Linked DNA regions of Homo sapiens: regions 2 and 3 are each linked to region 1. The links are contacts of gene promoters, found by promoter capture Hi-C in blood cells and fetal thymus (Javierre and others, 2016). All regions are on one chromosome and are shown on one strand. The core of a region is centred on a gene start or on the middle of the fragment in contact, and the rest is flanking DNA. Distances in the headings are between cores, read along the strand shown. Region 1 holds the start of ITGA6 (integrin subunit alpha 6). Region 2 overlaps HAT1 (histone acetyltransferase 1). Region 3 has its middle 68 kb from the start of DLX2-DT.

Region 1 (4,938 bases), core at 1,778-4,277:
TGACTGAATAGTTAAAGGCACTATAGAAAATTTGAACTACAAACATTTATGATAGGTCTTCTATGATCGTGCTTTTATCTGACCGTCCCATGCATCTGATATTTTACTTCTCCTTCCTCAAAGTCCTCTGTTCATTAAACTCACTTTTGTTATAAGTCTAATTAAGACCTATTAAAGTTAAGTTGCTTTGAACATGGGTTTCATAAATATGACTGAGTTTAAAATATCATTACCCAAAAACAACCACCTTTGGCTTTACTCTCAGGCAATCTTAGAATCACAGAATGTTTAAGACACCTTGTAAGGTACCTGACACACAGTAGGTACACAATTACTGCTTTTTAAATGATCATTAACAGCTACCATTTAGTCAGCAAGTACCCATGCCAGACAGGCATTAAGCACTTTGCATATTATCTCTTAATCCTCATAATAACCCCAGTAAGCAGTAATATCTCCATTTTACAGATAAAGAAATTAAAGCTCAAAGTAAATTAACAGCTGCTAATAAAAGGCCGAGAAGGAATCTCAGCTTAGGTCTCTCTCCCACCAGGTCCCTGAAAGACCCCCACTGAGTTTTTCCATAGAGTTTAGGAAGCTGGTCCAGAAGTTTTCTCAGTCTTACTGGCTCTGCCATTTACACCCACATTCTTTACTGTCAAAGGTTGACAACTGACCTGTGCTATGGCCTGTGTGTGCTGGTTCTCCTGGGAAGACCAATGCTATTCCTGAAGCTGGAATAAAGCTTTACAAAAGCATGGAGGTGGGCAGCACGTGACATAAACCACAGCCTCTTTAAAGTGTGGTCACTGCCTTTGGACTCTAGGAAACATACAGTCTCCTTATACGGGGCCTCTCCCCTCTGTCAGCTGCTAAGAAGAGCTTTCCTAGAAGGCATCAGACCCCATTGCAGGCTTATCCTTACCTCGGGAGGAGTTGCCTCAGCTCTAATACCAGAGAAGCCCAGCAGCAGTAACAAGTTTTAGCAAGCATGCTGCTAACCTTCACGACACAGATTCCTGGCAAAGTCACGTTTCGCAAATCTCCACTGCCAGGATATTTCTTGTCCCAGTACTTTCCCTTCACACTTTTTGCTTGAACAAGTATTTCAAGGAAGCCACCGGTTTCAGTGGGGCTCTGGTGCAGAGAGAGAATGCCCAGGAGAATGAATTCCCTCTGCTGGCCCACAATCATTTCTGCACTAACAAGCTCAAATTCTACACACCAAGTATTCCGAGACAATAAACGTCATCTATTAACTGAGTTAACAGGAACCTTTCATTTCAGATTTACAGCTTAACAACAATTATTTCTGAGAGAAAGCAGAGTATAAGCAGCTGGCCAGGCATATAGCCTCAGACCACCCTCCTAGAGCCTCCCCACCCCCAGCTAATTTCTGTGCTTCACCTAGCAGGTGTTATCAGAAAAAAAAAAAAACTGACTAAAATTCAGGGGCTGCAACATTCACGAATTCCAAAGTTGTTAACCGCTGAAATCAAGAGGTTTCCTCCAGTTCTAAAATCCCATTCGCCTCTCCTAAACACAAAATCTCTTCACTGTGGCTGCACTTTGCTTTCTCCGGTCTGTTGGTCCTGGAAGGTCCTTAGTTCAACTCAAGGCCTGGGTGGGGAGGGGAGACCTTTTGTTGCTACAGCCTATTTTTCAGTAGCACAGATGAAGAATGCAACCCCATAGCGATTAAGGCGACTAAGCGCCAAAATACCCTCTCCGGCTTAAATAGCCGATCATGTGGGAACCAAACACTGTTTAAGAAATAAAAGGAGAGGCCAGTAGTGCCGGTCTCCTCTTTCTCCTGGGAGGTTTACCGCTACGGTGGGGGGTTGTCCCTTACAAACCTTGTTTGCAAAGTCCAGGCTCAGATCGGACATTTTGCTTTAACCCCTTGGCTGTGCCCGCCCAACGCAGGAGCCGAGCGGGTCTCGGGTGCGGCCGAGTACTTTGGGGGCTGGGCACATCACTCAGACTTGTTTTCTCAGCTGATCTAGTCCAGCGAACAGGTGTTTGGTTAATTCCCGCCCCCACCCCCATCTTTTTTTTTTTTTTTTTCAAAGGCATGTAAAAGTATCTCCTAAGGAGCGCCCCCGCCTTGCTGAGAAAGTCATGCAGGACACATGGAAAGTGGCTTTCCAACTTGTGCGGGGCGCGCCAGTCTGCGGGGGAGACGGGGTGCACCGTGAGTTTGGGAAAGGCCTAGACCATCCTGGAACTACGCTCCCTGCAAACCCACAGCAGCGCTGCGGTGACCCTGAACGCCACCCCAGCCCCAAACACACACGTGAAGCTCAGCAAAGCGTGCCACCTGCCGGGGTCCCAGCAAACACGCCCGGAGGGAAGAACCGGCGGAAAGCACTTTGTTTAAAACAGAAAAAAAAGTAAACTCTCCCGGGGCCCAGCCTAGCCCTCGGGTTCTCCTCCTTCCCGAGCTGAATGGAGGGAGGCGCCGCGCGGGGCGGGTCAGGGCGGGGAGCCGAGCGCGCTGGGCGCTGGGTGCGCCTCGGCCGGCCCGGGCGCGACCCACGGGCCAACTACTCCCCGGGGCCGGCGGGAACAGGGCGCGCCCTCGCCTCAACTCGCGCGCAGGCCGGCGCCCCAGTGGGGGTGGGAAGGGTCTGGGAACTCACAGCCGCTTGTCCTCGGGCTGCAGTTGCCAGTGCATGGCCAGCGAGAAGCCGAAGAGGCTCCCGGGGTCTCCATATTTCCGGATCACGTTGTCCTCCCGAGTGTCCAAGTTGAAGGCTGCGCCGAGCCGGGACAGGAGCCCCGCCGACAGGTAGAGCAAGCACAGCTGCCCGGCGGCGGCCATGGGCGGACGCACGGGGAGGGGAGCGGGGACCTGCAGCGGCCGCCCTGCGCTCCGGGCTGGGTCCGAGGCTGCCGCGCTGCTGCTACCGCAGCCACCTTCGCCTCCTCTCGCCGCTGCGCCCGGCCCCACCCCCGGGACGGGTCGCGCTCTCCGTCCGGCCGCTCCCCCTCGCGGGCAGCTCGCGACCGCTGAATGAGCCCGTTGTTCTCTGGAGACTCGCAGGCGTTTTATCAAGTGACGAGGACGCCGGCCCCGCCCCTCCCCACCCTCTCGCCCCTCCTTGCGCGCCCGCGGCCCGGCGCACCGCCCGCACCTTACCCGCCGGCTCTGGCGTCTCCAGCTGCCCGGTACCTGCCCGGAAGCCACGACGTGGGAGCCCCGGAGGCGAGCTCGCGGCGAAGCAGCCCCACTGCGCCGCCCTCTGTGGACAGAATTGTGGTTGCCGAGTAGCACAGAGCGAGGGAGACTTTACTACCCGTTATAAAGAGAAGTGCAGGTGATGCACCGGGCCTCATGGCCTGAGCAGCCTGTTCTTGCAGATGTGGGCCCACGTGCAGATGCATACGTCATTCATTCATTTCTACAGGTGTTTATGGAGCGCTTAAGGCGTGCCCAACACTTGGGGACTACAGCTGTGTAGACTGTTCTGGGTCCTCAAACACCTAACAACCCTCAAAAATGATCACAGCGCACACCTTGATAGTGCTGTATAATGTACACAACCCAGCCATTACCTCAATTCATCCTAACAGTCCTATGAGGTAGGTGTTTCTTTTTGCAGATCAGAAAACCGAAGTTCCGCCTTGTCCCCAGATCACCTAGGATTTTGCCCAGGTGACCAGGAGAGCTTGTGGAAGAAGTCACGCAAGTCAAGGATGGGTTGTTTAAAGTGGCGCCAGGAGCTCAGGCGACGATGCCGTTCTTTCCTAGCCCCGGACTTTCAGAACTAGTTGTGGGGAGAACTGCTGGGCCAAGAGACAGCTCCGAGTTCTGTGTAGGTGGCATGAAGGCTCCTGCCTCCAGGACATGAGGCGGGGCTCCAGTGAGGTGTTGGCCCTAGGGGCAACCTTATCCTGCAGGGGTTCTTAACCCGAGGAGAGGTAATTAATTCAAGAGTACTGTGAACTTGGATGAGAAAAAATTTACGTCTTAATTTTCACCAACCTCTGACATTTAGCACGTTTTGCCATTATGAACGTAGACAACAAACTACAGTAGCAGTAGGATAAGTATTTATGACTTAGTAATCACTAGAAACCATAGGTTTTTACATCACATCACAGTTGTTGCAAGTATCTCAAATAACAGTAGTTATTAGACAATCAGCCAGATATTATATGTCAATAATGAAGCATATATATTGCTCTAGCACAAATTTTTAAAAACATTTTGTTAGCTACATTTCAATATTATTGGCTTTTTTTGTAACCTCTTGTGGTTTCTTTTATGTATTTAAAACCCTTATTCTGAGAAGAACCCCATGGTTTTCAGCAGCCTGCCAAAGGGGTCCCATGGCATGAAAAGGTTGGGACGTGCTGGCCTGAAGCCTTCTGGAATGCCTTGGGGAGCCCTCTTTGGAATCTGACATCCCTGCATTGGAAATACAAGCAGGGTGCAGCCCCAGGAAAGAGCAGGAGCTGTGTGTGCATAGGGGTAGGGGTGGCCTCTTCTTCACCTCAAGGAGTATTCAAGAGAACAGCATGTGCCACTCAGAAAAGCTGCGTGAACATCATCAAGGGTCCCCACAGGTGGTAGCAGCTGTCAGAGTAAGTCCGTCAGTATATTAGGGGTGTGTACCACTTCCTTTCCAATCAGTAACTCCAGTCAATTATAGTCCAAAGTGGGGTGCAGTGGTTTAAATTCAGTAGATGATTTTGGAGAGCACACAGTTTTAACAAATATATCTTGATAAGGTTGAGAAACTATTGGAGACAATCTAGTAAACTAAGAAGTACTTGCAACGTGATTTTTCATGCAAATAAGTTGCAAGTTAGCCTTTTCCCTTCGTGTAAAATATGTACTATTCCAGAGAGATGGGGTCCAGACTATTATAGGCATAGTATAATGAACCTCACTGCAGAGTGTACTCAGCCAGGAGCTGGTGATTTGGCTGT
Region 2 (4,938 bases), core at 789-3,288, 470 kb after region 1:
AAAGGCAGGAGGTTTTTGTTTTTAAGACAAGAGTCTTGCTCTGTCACCTAGGCTGGAATGTAGTAGTGTAACCATAGCTTACTGCAGCCTTGACCTCCTGGGCTCAAGAGATCCTTCTGTCTCAGCCTTCCAAGTAGCTGGGACTACAGGAGCATGCCATCATGCCTAGCTTTTGTTTTCGTTTTTTGAGACAGAGTCTTGCTCTGTCACCCAAGCTGGAGTACAGTGGCGCGAACTCGGCTTCCTGCAACCTCCACTTCCCGAGTTCAAGTGATTCTCCTGCCTCACCCTCCTGAGTAGCTAGGACCACAAGCACGCACCACAACACCTGGCTAATTTTTGCACTTTTGGTAGAGATGAGGTTTCACCATGTTGGCCAGGCTAGTCTCAAACTCCTGACCTCAAGTGACCTGTCCACCTCGGCCTCCCAAAGCGCTGGGATTACAGGTTTGAGCCACCACGTTCAGCATTTTTTTTTTTTAATAGGCAGGGTCTTATTATGTTACCAAGGCTGGTCTCAAATTCCTGGCCTCAAATGATCCTCCTGAGTCAGCCTACAGAGTAGCTGGCATTACAAGCACAGAGCAGGAGGTGTTAATAAAAGCAAAGGTCAAGGACAACCAGATGAAAAAATCATCAGTGTCTGAATAATCAAGTTTATTGTATTGTAAAATTCAGAATTATGTTTCCTTTAAAGATGGTGGCTAGTAGAGATTTTATAGGCATCTTAATTGTGACTGAAGAATTTTAGGTGCAACTAGAGCATTCAGCTTGGAAAAGTAAAAGAATGGATGATTAAAAATTAATGTAATGACATAATCCTAATAAGAAATAACTTCTAAGCAGATGTTATGGCTGCTGACCATCTATGCAGTATGATCTGCAAAGCCCTAATATATTAGACTCAAACCTAACATCCAAAATAAAATTTTTTTATTGTTTCCACTTAAACCTATTTCTTCTATAGTTTTCCCAGTTAACAGTACCATAATTGAACTTGGGCAATGGGGTTCTCGTTTTTTTTCTTCATCTGTCACATCTAATTCAACAGCAGACCTCCAAAATGTTCCTTACTCTGACAACTAAGTCCAGTGTCACCTCTAACACTGCAATGTTCCGGTCTCTTCTTTCACTTTTGCCCTATACAGTGTGTTCTCTGCACAGCAGCCAGAATCATATTTTAAAAATATAAATCACATTGTTTATGACCTCCACCTACTTAAGAATGCCTCTAAAGAATGCCAACTACTCTTATTTCTTGCAAACACCTATCACAGAACACAAGATCCTATATGATGATCTAGCTTTGCATCCCCTTCAACCATCTCCTACCCCTCTCTCCATCACCACAATGATTTAACCCTGGTAATCTTTCTGGACTACAAAAATGCCAAAAATGCTGTATTTTTAGAGCCTTTGTATCTTAGTAAGCTTTACCCTCAGATTATAACATGGCTGGTTCCTCCTTTATCATTCAGAAATGAGCAAAATGTATCTTCATAATACTGCCTGAATTTAATTTGTGTATTTACTATTTTGTTTACTGACTGTTCCTCTTGGCTAGAATGTAAGCTCCATGACTTTGTCTGCCACTGTATCGCTGGCATCAACAACACAGAAGGCACTATGGAATGAACACTCACTGCAAACTGAGATAGAAGAAGCAAGCCCATGACCCACATATCCCCTACCCAATCGTTTTTAATAAGGGGAAAAAAGTCTTTGTTTGAATACGCAATATAAATGATCTTTGACCACAAAGCAAATAAGTAACTCTACAAAGAGACATTATAAAAGATTGATTCCTTATTCCTAACACAGTATTTCTAAATGGAAAAACCTAATTTTCAAGAATGGAACAATTAGATGTCAATGCAAATACACAGCTATTTTCACTGCATGAAATATTTAAAAGATTTATCTATAACTAAATCAATAGTTCCTTTGGAAGAAATCAATTCAGTGCTATCAGCTGCAACTGTAAAAAACAAAAACCCTCCAACAGTGGGTTTACACACAAGGAAAAACATCACCTGCATTTTTAATAAGAATATCTAGCTGGGCTTGGGTCTGGAGAATTTAGCAATCTACATATTTGATTATGAAAAAACTCTATTTTAATAAATGTGTTAAATGCTAGTTTATCTAAGATTACATCTTTTCAAACATCAAACCACTACAGTATTACTCAGAATCACTTTTGTATCTGCACAATTTCAAAAGTTATCCTGGGAAACAAACTATATAAAATAAAACAAATATTAAATGTAGTTACATATTATTTATCTGGCAAGCTCAGTCATCTCAAACATGGCTGGGAAGTGGGGAAAAACACACAAAAAAACCAAATAGAACTCAAAATATTTCTAATACTAAAGTTGAATAATGAATATGAAACTACTTCAGATCTTTTTCATGCTATGCACAATTCATATTATATGAAACTATTTCAGATCTTTTTCATGCTACGCACAATTAGTTTTATAGATGGGGCATAGGGTTGGCAAAAGAGGTAAAGTCAGAAGTTAATGTCAGTTTAAAGTCCTGAAAAAGTTGGTGGCATTGTTAATGTTTTAGGAACTGCTACTTCTGCAAAAGAAAGTTATGACATACAGTATGAAGTAATCAGATTCCATCAAGCTTACCAATATGGTATTTTTAACCATAAGGGGTTTGCTAGTGTGAAGCTCCTTACAATGATAGCAGTAAACTGGGAGCACATGGCATAAAACACAGGAGAAGGCTGGGTACGGTGGCTTGTGCCTGTAATCCCAGCATTTTGGAAGGCCAAGGTGGGAAGATTGCTTGAGGCCAGGAGTTTGAGGCCAGTCTGGGCACTATAGCAAGACCCCGTCTCTACAAAAAATTAAAAATTAAAAAAATATTTTTTTTAATGAGGGGGAAAAACACATGGTCAAAAGGGGAAAGATACCTATGTAACAAACGTGCAAGTTCTGCACATGTATCCCAGAACTTAAAATTAAAAAAAAAAATAACGGGAGAGAGAGAGAAAAAGCAGTAAGCCCAAGAGCCTGGATCCTCTTAGAACAGGTCATAAATATTCCTAACATCTTTTAATCAGGATATTATTATATATTATGCATAATAACACTAAATAATCATCTCCTAGTACAATACTGATTATTTACTAGTTGTATGACTTTGGGCAAAACCTTTAAATATAACAAATCCCTCAAAATTTAAATAATAAAAAAGGGCCAAGTAAGTCAGTTCCAGTAATGAGAGGAGGTTTTAACCAAAAATATAGATGGGGCATAGGGGTGGCAAAAGAGGTAAAGTCAACAGTTAAAATCAGTTTAAAGCCCTGAAAAAGTTGGTTTAATTGTTAATTCTTTAGGAACTGCTACTTCTGCAGAGGAAAGTTATGACATACAGTATGAAGTAATATATTTCATTTTCCATACTTGTGTCTAGCACAGTATTACCAACAGTATATCAGATATAATTTACTAAAACTTGCTGGATTAATAAGTGCAAAGAAAAGAGATTTTGCTATAAGAATTAACTTTCAATTTTATAAATATGATTTAGTGACAAAATGGGATTTAATCTTTAAAAAAATCAATGGTGAAGTTTCAATGCCCTTAAATGAGGAATGCTCGGAAACAGAACAAGCCTAAAATATAATTTTCTTAAGGCCCTCAAAGATTCATGTCCATCCCACATGCAAAATACATTCATTCTATCCAAACATTCCTAAAAGTCTCAACCATTACCATATCAACTCAAGCCCAAAATCTCATCTAGATATAGTCAGTTCAAAAGTCACACCTCTCATCATAGGTAAGACTGTGGGTATGATACATCCTAGGGCAAAATTCCTCTCCATCTATGAACCTGTGAAATTAGAAAACACAGTATCACTTCCAAAAGACAATGGTAGGACAGGCATAGGACAACAGTTATAGAATCTCTCATTCCAGAAAAGGAAATGGAAGGAAGAAAGGAGCCACTGCCACCAAGCAATTTCAAAATTCAGCATGGCAAACTCCATTAGGTTTCAAGGCCTAAGAATAACTGTGGCCTGCAGCTCCACCCTCTGGACCCAAAGCTTTGCCCTCAGAGTCATTCTTCCACTTTCTTTAAAGGTAGCACATGTTGGCAGCTGAGCAGTTTTATTAGCCTGTTTCCTGCCTGTGAAATTTGGAGAGTTCATACAGCCTTCCTTCATTTTGTCCTGTCAATCCAAGCTGCACTATAAAGTTTTAATTCTCAAAACCCTTGAGTCGCCTGTGTACGTCATGAGGGTTCATACCATTAGACAAGAGGGTCCTCCACAAATGTTCCCCAGATCTACATTCCTAGCTTTTTGCTGAGACAACTGAGGAGATCCATGAGTCACGTGCCTAATCCCTTCAGCACTAGCAAAAGGTTATCCTGTCACACTCACGGCTTTCTCTCCAGAACACACTTTCCACCTTCCTGACAATGAATATCCTAACTAGTGTCTTCTACAATCTGGATAGGTTAAGAATTTCCCAAATCATCAAGTCCTGTATCCTTTTTGTTTAACAGTTCTTCCCTCAATTTATCTCTTTCATCACTTTACTATAAGCAGCCAGAAATCAGGCCACACCTCCAATACTTTCCATGAAAACCTCCTCAGCTAAACATCCAAGTTCATTGCTTACAGTAAGTTCTCCTTTCCACAGAACTGCAGGACATAACTCAGCTAGGCTTTCTGCCACTATAGAACAAGGATATCCTTTTCTCCAGTTGCCAAATACATGTTCCTCATTTTATTCTAAGCCCTCACCAACCAGAGGCAGTTCTTTTGTTTGTTTGTTTGTTTTTTGGAGACAAGGTCTGGCTCTGTCACTCAGGCTGGAGTGCAGTGGCACCATCTTGGCTCACTGCAACCTTCACCTCCCGTGCTTAAGCCAGTCTCCCACCTCAGGCTCCAGAGTAGCTGGAACT
Region 3 (4,938 bases), core at 1,447-3,946, 260 kb after region 1:
TTCCACTTCTAGGAATGTATTCTATAGACATGGTTGCACACGTACTCAAAGATATACACACAGATGTTCACTGCAGAATTGTTTGTCATAGCAAAAGACTGGAAACAACCGCCATATCCTTCCATCGTGGCCGATAGAATAATTACGGGGTGCTGGTATAACATACAGAACACCAGGCAGCCATCTAAAAGAATGCCGTACACCCACACATGCTGATGTGAGGTCATCTCCAAGATACATGATAAAGGGGGAGCTGAGGCGGCAGGGCAGATGACCCAGTTTGGGGATGGGGACGCATTTGAAAGGAGATAGCCATATACTTGTGTTCTGGAAGGAATCAAAAGAAAATATTAGCAGTGGCTGCCTGCTCTGAAAGGGGAAGAGGCTTCTGTACTGTTTGAATTTTCTACCATGTGCACTTACTATTTTTTCCATTTTTAGTTAACTAAAAAAAAAAAAGAAAGAAATAGCCATTTAAAGCAAGGTAGAGGGGAGGGAGATTCATGGTACTCTGAGCTCTGCTGTCACAAGGAAAGAGAGTCCACATCCCACCCAAGCACTGAGCAACAATGGAAAGTCAAACGCTGGAGGAGGAAGCAAGGCCAAAAAAATATTTTTTTAATAAAATAAAAAAATTTATGTAGATATAAAGAAAATGATAGCAACGCAACGATAAAGGCATTGGAGTAGCACTTTCCACCAGCATATTGCTAGTCAGAATGAGTGCAGCCCGGCGCGAGGACCACCCGTTTCCGTGACCACGACTGGACCCCTCCCCAGCCCACTATCCTTGGGGTCCGCTCGTTCGTGCCGTCCGAGCCGTCTGTGGGGGCGACCCAGGCCCGGGCGCCTAACTCCCGGCAGCGGGGCGGCAGTTCGCGCTTCCCCAAGGGTGGTGCAGGTCAGCCCCGCAGGCGGGCAAGATCCTAGCCCCGGGACGTGCTGTCGTGTGTGCAAACTTCGCTGCGGTCTGAAAGAGCTGTCGGTCGGTCGGGGCCCCGGAGGCCCCCGGCACGGCTGCAGTTGCGCCCGGGGCTGAACGCGGCGTTGGCTGCAGCGCGCTCCCAAGCCGCCCCGCCCCGGCCCACATTCCTAAGGCCACAGTGCGACCCAGCGGGCCGCGGGGAAACTGCGCCGGACCACGGCCCGCCACCGCCCGAGCCCTCACCTGCAGCCTTCCAGGAAATGTGGCCGCGGGAGCAGCTTCCCTCCTCCTTCCTAAATGGAGAGGGCTGATCTGTTTGCCAAGACAATGTCTAAACCTGACCCTTCCCTCACGCTGTAGAAGAAAATCGAAGTGCTGGAAAGTTCCGGTGGAGGGACTTGGAGGGATAAAATTCAGAATTCCAGACATCTTGTAATTTATGAAGTCAAGGAAGGTCCGTTTCTACCTGAAGAATGACTCTAATGATTTAATAAAATCTATAGACACTAGGCTTATAAGCAGGCTCGACCAAAATGCCACCTGCTTTGTGACGTTGGCCTCTGGCTAAGTGGAAATGTCCCCTGGCTCGCTGGCTTTCGCGGCCATTGTAACAGTCTCTCAGCTCTTACCACGTTCCCTGTGAATTGAATCTGCATGTCATTCCCTTTAGCAGAACCTACAAGCTCCATGAAGCAGAGATCCTATCTTCCTCATCTGTCTTAGGAATAGGCACCAAGACAGAAAGAAACCCTGCAGCAGTTAAGAACAGGAAAGAAAAAAGCAGCAAAGTCACAACAGCAACACTCACTCGCCAATTTTATTTGTCACTTAACAAGTTTATTGGGCTGGGCGCGGTGACTCACATCTAAAATCCCAGCACTTTGGGAGGCTGAGGCCGGTGGATCACCTGAAATCAGGCGTTCGAGAGCAGCCTGGCCAACATAGTGAAACCCTGTCTCTACTAAAAATACAAAAATTAGCCGGGTGTGGTGGTGCGCGCCTGTAATTCCAGCTACTCGCGAGGCTGAGGCACAGGAATCATTTGAACCCGGGAGGCGGAGGTTGCAGTGAGTCAAGATGGCACCACTGCACTCCAGCCTGGGTGACAAAGTAAGAATCTGTCTTAAAAAAAAAAAAAAGTTTATTGAACACCAAATAACCATATATTATGGTGAACCTTGATCCAGTAGACCAGCATTTTTCAATGGATGCCCTCTGCACTTCAGTTTCAGGCCATATTAATACCATATAACTTGAACATCAGGGCACCCTGAACATATGGTGAGCCCACGTGTTGCAAGAGAAAAGTTCCTCAAAAAAAAAAGTTGCGGTTTTAGGAATTCTTTTAGCCAACTTGAAAACATAAATGTTTAGGATATATATGAGTTAAATGTCAGTGTATAGGATTGGATTTATTCATTTGGTTACACATAAAAGCTTAAATCACACATGTGAAATAACACATTGATTTTGAAATAATGCTTTTTTTCTACTCTGACATGTTATGAAGCAATTTTATTTAAACTCTTACCTGAGTTTTTCAATATCTTAGTCAGAAGAAGAGACGTATCTTAGGGCATCTAACACAGTCATTTTTATTTACAAACAATATTTTTTGAACCCATGTGTGAGCTACCACCGGACATTTAATACTAAGCCATAATTTGATAAATTCAGAGTTTTAAAAAATGTATCCTATAGGTATAGATTTGTGATCTCTTCAACATATTCACTAACTGTATTGCTTTTTTGTCATTGCTGATTTACACCAGCACCCAGTCAATAGTCACATGGGGAGGTCAGGCCCTGCATCAATCAGTAAGGGTCTAGCTACAGAGAATAAGGGTCTAGCTCCTGGCTAGTTTGAGCAAGAGATTTGTAACAGGGTGTCATATAACTTCCAGAATCACCGAACTGGAGGTAGTAGGGGAGAGTTTGGCAAGAAACAGACTCTAGACTGAGCTTCTAGTAATAATTCCAAAGTCACATCAGATAATTGGCCAGAGAACAAAAAGCCCCAAGCCAAATCTGGCTCTGCTGCTATGGCGGCCCCGTGTGAAATGATGCCACCTCTGCTACAATCAAGAAGCTGCCGGCCAAGCTTGCTGCTGCTGCATATCATATCTGCTACCAATCACAAACAAAAATGAATGCCACCTTCCAAAGCCAAGATTTATATAAGCAAGTGCATCTGAATGTCAGAACCTAAAGTACATCCAAAATTCTTACTGCAAGAAGGTCTAGAAAAGATTGTTTTTAGCTTTCCGGATTCTTCAGTATAAGAAGACAGATTCTTTTTTATGTATATAAAAAAGTAGACACTGGATCTCACTATGTTGTCCAGGATGGTCTCAAACTCCTGGCCTCAAGCAATCCTCCCACCTTGGCCTCACAAAGTGCTGGGATAACAGGCATGAGCCACAGCACCTGGCCTAAGACAATAGAAGAAAGTTAGAATACATGGTGAGTAAGGTAGTCCACAGCAACTGCCTCATACTCCCAATAATAGTTACTAATTTTGTGCTAAATGTATTTTTCCCCCTCTTTTTTTTTAACCAATTCCATCAGATAACCTTTATCATCAACTAAAACTAGTATTGATTGGTTTCAGTATTGTGCTTTTTCCATACAATACCTTAGTCATTTAAAAGTAAGTAATCCAGAAAATGCTCTGAAATATGAGACCTCGGAAGCCCTTGAATATTAGGATACTCCATCTTTTCTGAGAGATAATTTGGAAGAAAAAAACCCTTGCCTCATATTTGAGCATACACAGTAGTTTTTCCTTGAAAAGTTGTTGTTGTTTTTTTTTAATATCTTTATGGGCAAGGGTATCCATTGTATAGGGCTGCCTAACAAATTGCCTTAAAATGGATGGTTTAAAACAACAGAAATGTATTCCCTCAAAGTTCTGGAGGCCAGAAGTCTGAAATCAAGGTATCAGTAGGGCTCATTTCCTTCTAGGGGCCTGGCCTTCCAGCTTCTGGTGGCTAATATTTTATGGCTTCCTTGGCTTGTGGCCACACCATTCCAACCTCAGCCTCTGCCTTACTGTCTCTCTCTTCTGTGTCTGTCTTCTCCTCTTCTGTCTCAAATCTACCCCTGCCTTTCTCTTATATGAACACTTATCACTGGACTTAAAGCCCACTTGAATAATACAGGATGATCTCAAGATCCTTAACTTAATTACATATGCAAAGAATCTTTTACCAAATAAGGTAACAGCCACAGGTTCCAGGGATTTGACATGGGTGTTCTGAGGGGACCACCATTCAACCCACTACAGCAAGGAAGTTTAGGAAATGCTGGACTAAACAAATTAAATTGGTTTCTTTTCTACAGGATTTTGCAAAGCCTGTAACGTCCTAAATGTGCATTGTGAATCTCCAAGAGTGAGATACACTATACAGTGATTTTCAAAATTATTCAACCATGAAATCCTATTTGCAGAAGCAATATTCCACAGAACACACTCTGGCACAAACTTATAATTTACCTGCTGGGCAAGTCCTCAGAAAGAATGTCAATAAGTATCAGAGAAGCCAAAAATAAGTGACTAAACAGTTGAAGGTTCTCAAGGATTTGGCAAGAGTAACTATTCTAAGCCACAACCATGCAACACTGCTAAAGATAATCACAGCCATAAAGTCATAACATGAAGTAAAATATTTATGTCCAGTTACTACACTGCTTCCTGTATTTGTCCATTTTCAAGCTGCTGATAAAGACATACCCGAGACTGGGAAGAAAAGGAGGTTTAATAGGACTTACAGTTCCACATGACTGAGGAGGCCTCAGAATCATGGTGGGAGGTGAAACGCACTTCTTGCATGGCAGCGGCAAGACAAAAATGAGGAAGAAGCAAAAGCAGAAATCCCTGATATACCCAGCAGATTTCATGAGACTTATTCACTATCATGAGAATAGCATGGGGAAGACTGGCCCCCATGATTCAATTACCTCCCCCTGGGTCCCTCCCACAACATATGGGAATTCTGGGAGATACAATTCAA

Evidence for each region. The method cuts DNA at HindIII sites, captures the fragments that hold promoters and counts their contacts. A CHiCAGO score of 5 or more calls a contact.
Region 2: a contact is called between a fragment that was not itself captured here and the fragment with the promoter of ITGA6 in region 1, in 2 of 17 cell types (naive CD4 T cells and non-activated CD4 T cells). The highest score is 5.4, in naive CD4 T cells.
Region 3: a contact is called between a fragment that was not itself captured here and the fragment with the promoter of ITGA6 in region 1, in 14 of 17 cell types (megakaryocytes, M1 macrophages, M0 macrophages and 11 more). The highest score is 19.9, in megakaryocytes.

Annotation. Positions count from the first base shown.
Region 1 is chr2:172,425,675-172,430,612 of GRCh38, reverse strand. It overlaps ITGA6 (integrin subunit alpha 6), which reads right to left and starts at 3,027. Exons shown (of 26, transcript NM_000210.4): 1 at 2,643-3,027. The coding sequence starts at 2,824. RefSeq lists enhancers at 1-290, 1,715-2,215 and a silencer at 3,000-3,079. The HindIII fragment of the contact is 11,901 bases long and covers 748-4,938 here.
Region 2 is chr2:171,956,391-171,961,328 of GRCh38, reverse strand. All of the region lies in intron 4 of HAT1 (histone acetyltransferase 1), which reads right to left. Among named protein-coding and RNA genes, the nearest start is that of HAT1, 36 kb to the right of the region's middle. The HindIII fragment of the contact is 1,209 bases long and covers 1,434-2,642 here.
Region 3 is chr2:172,168,801-172,173,738 of GRCh38, reverse strand. No RefSeq gene overlaps it. Among named protein-coding and RNA genes, the nearest start is that of DLX2-DT, 68 kb to the right of the region's middle. The HindIII fragment of the contact is 664 bases long and covers 2,365-3,028 here.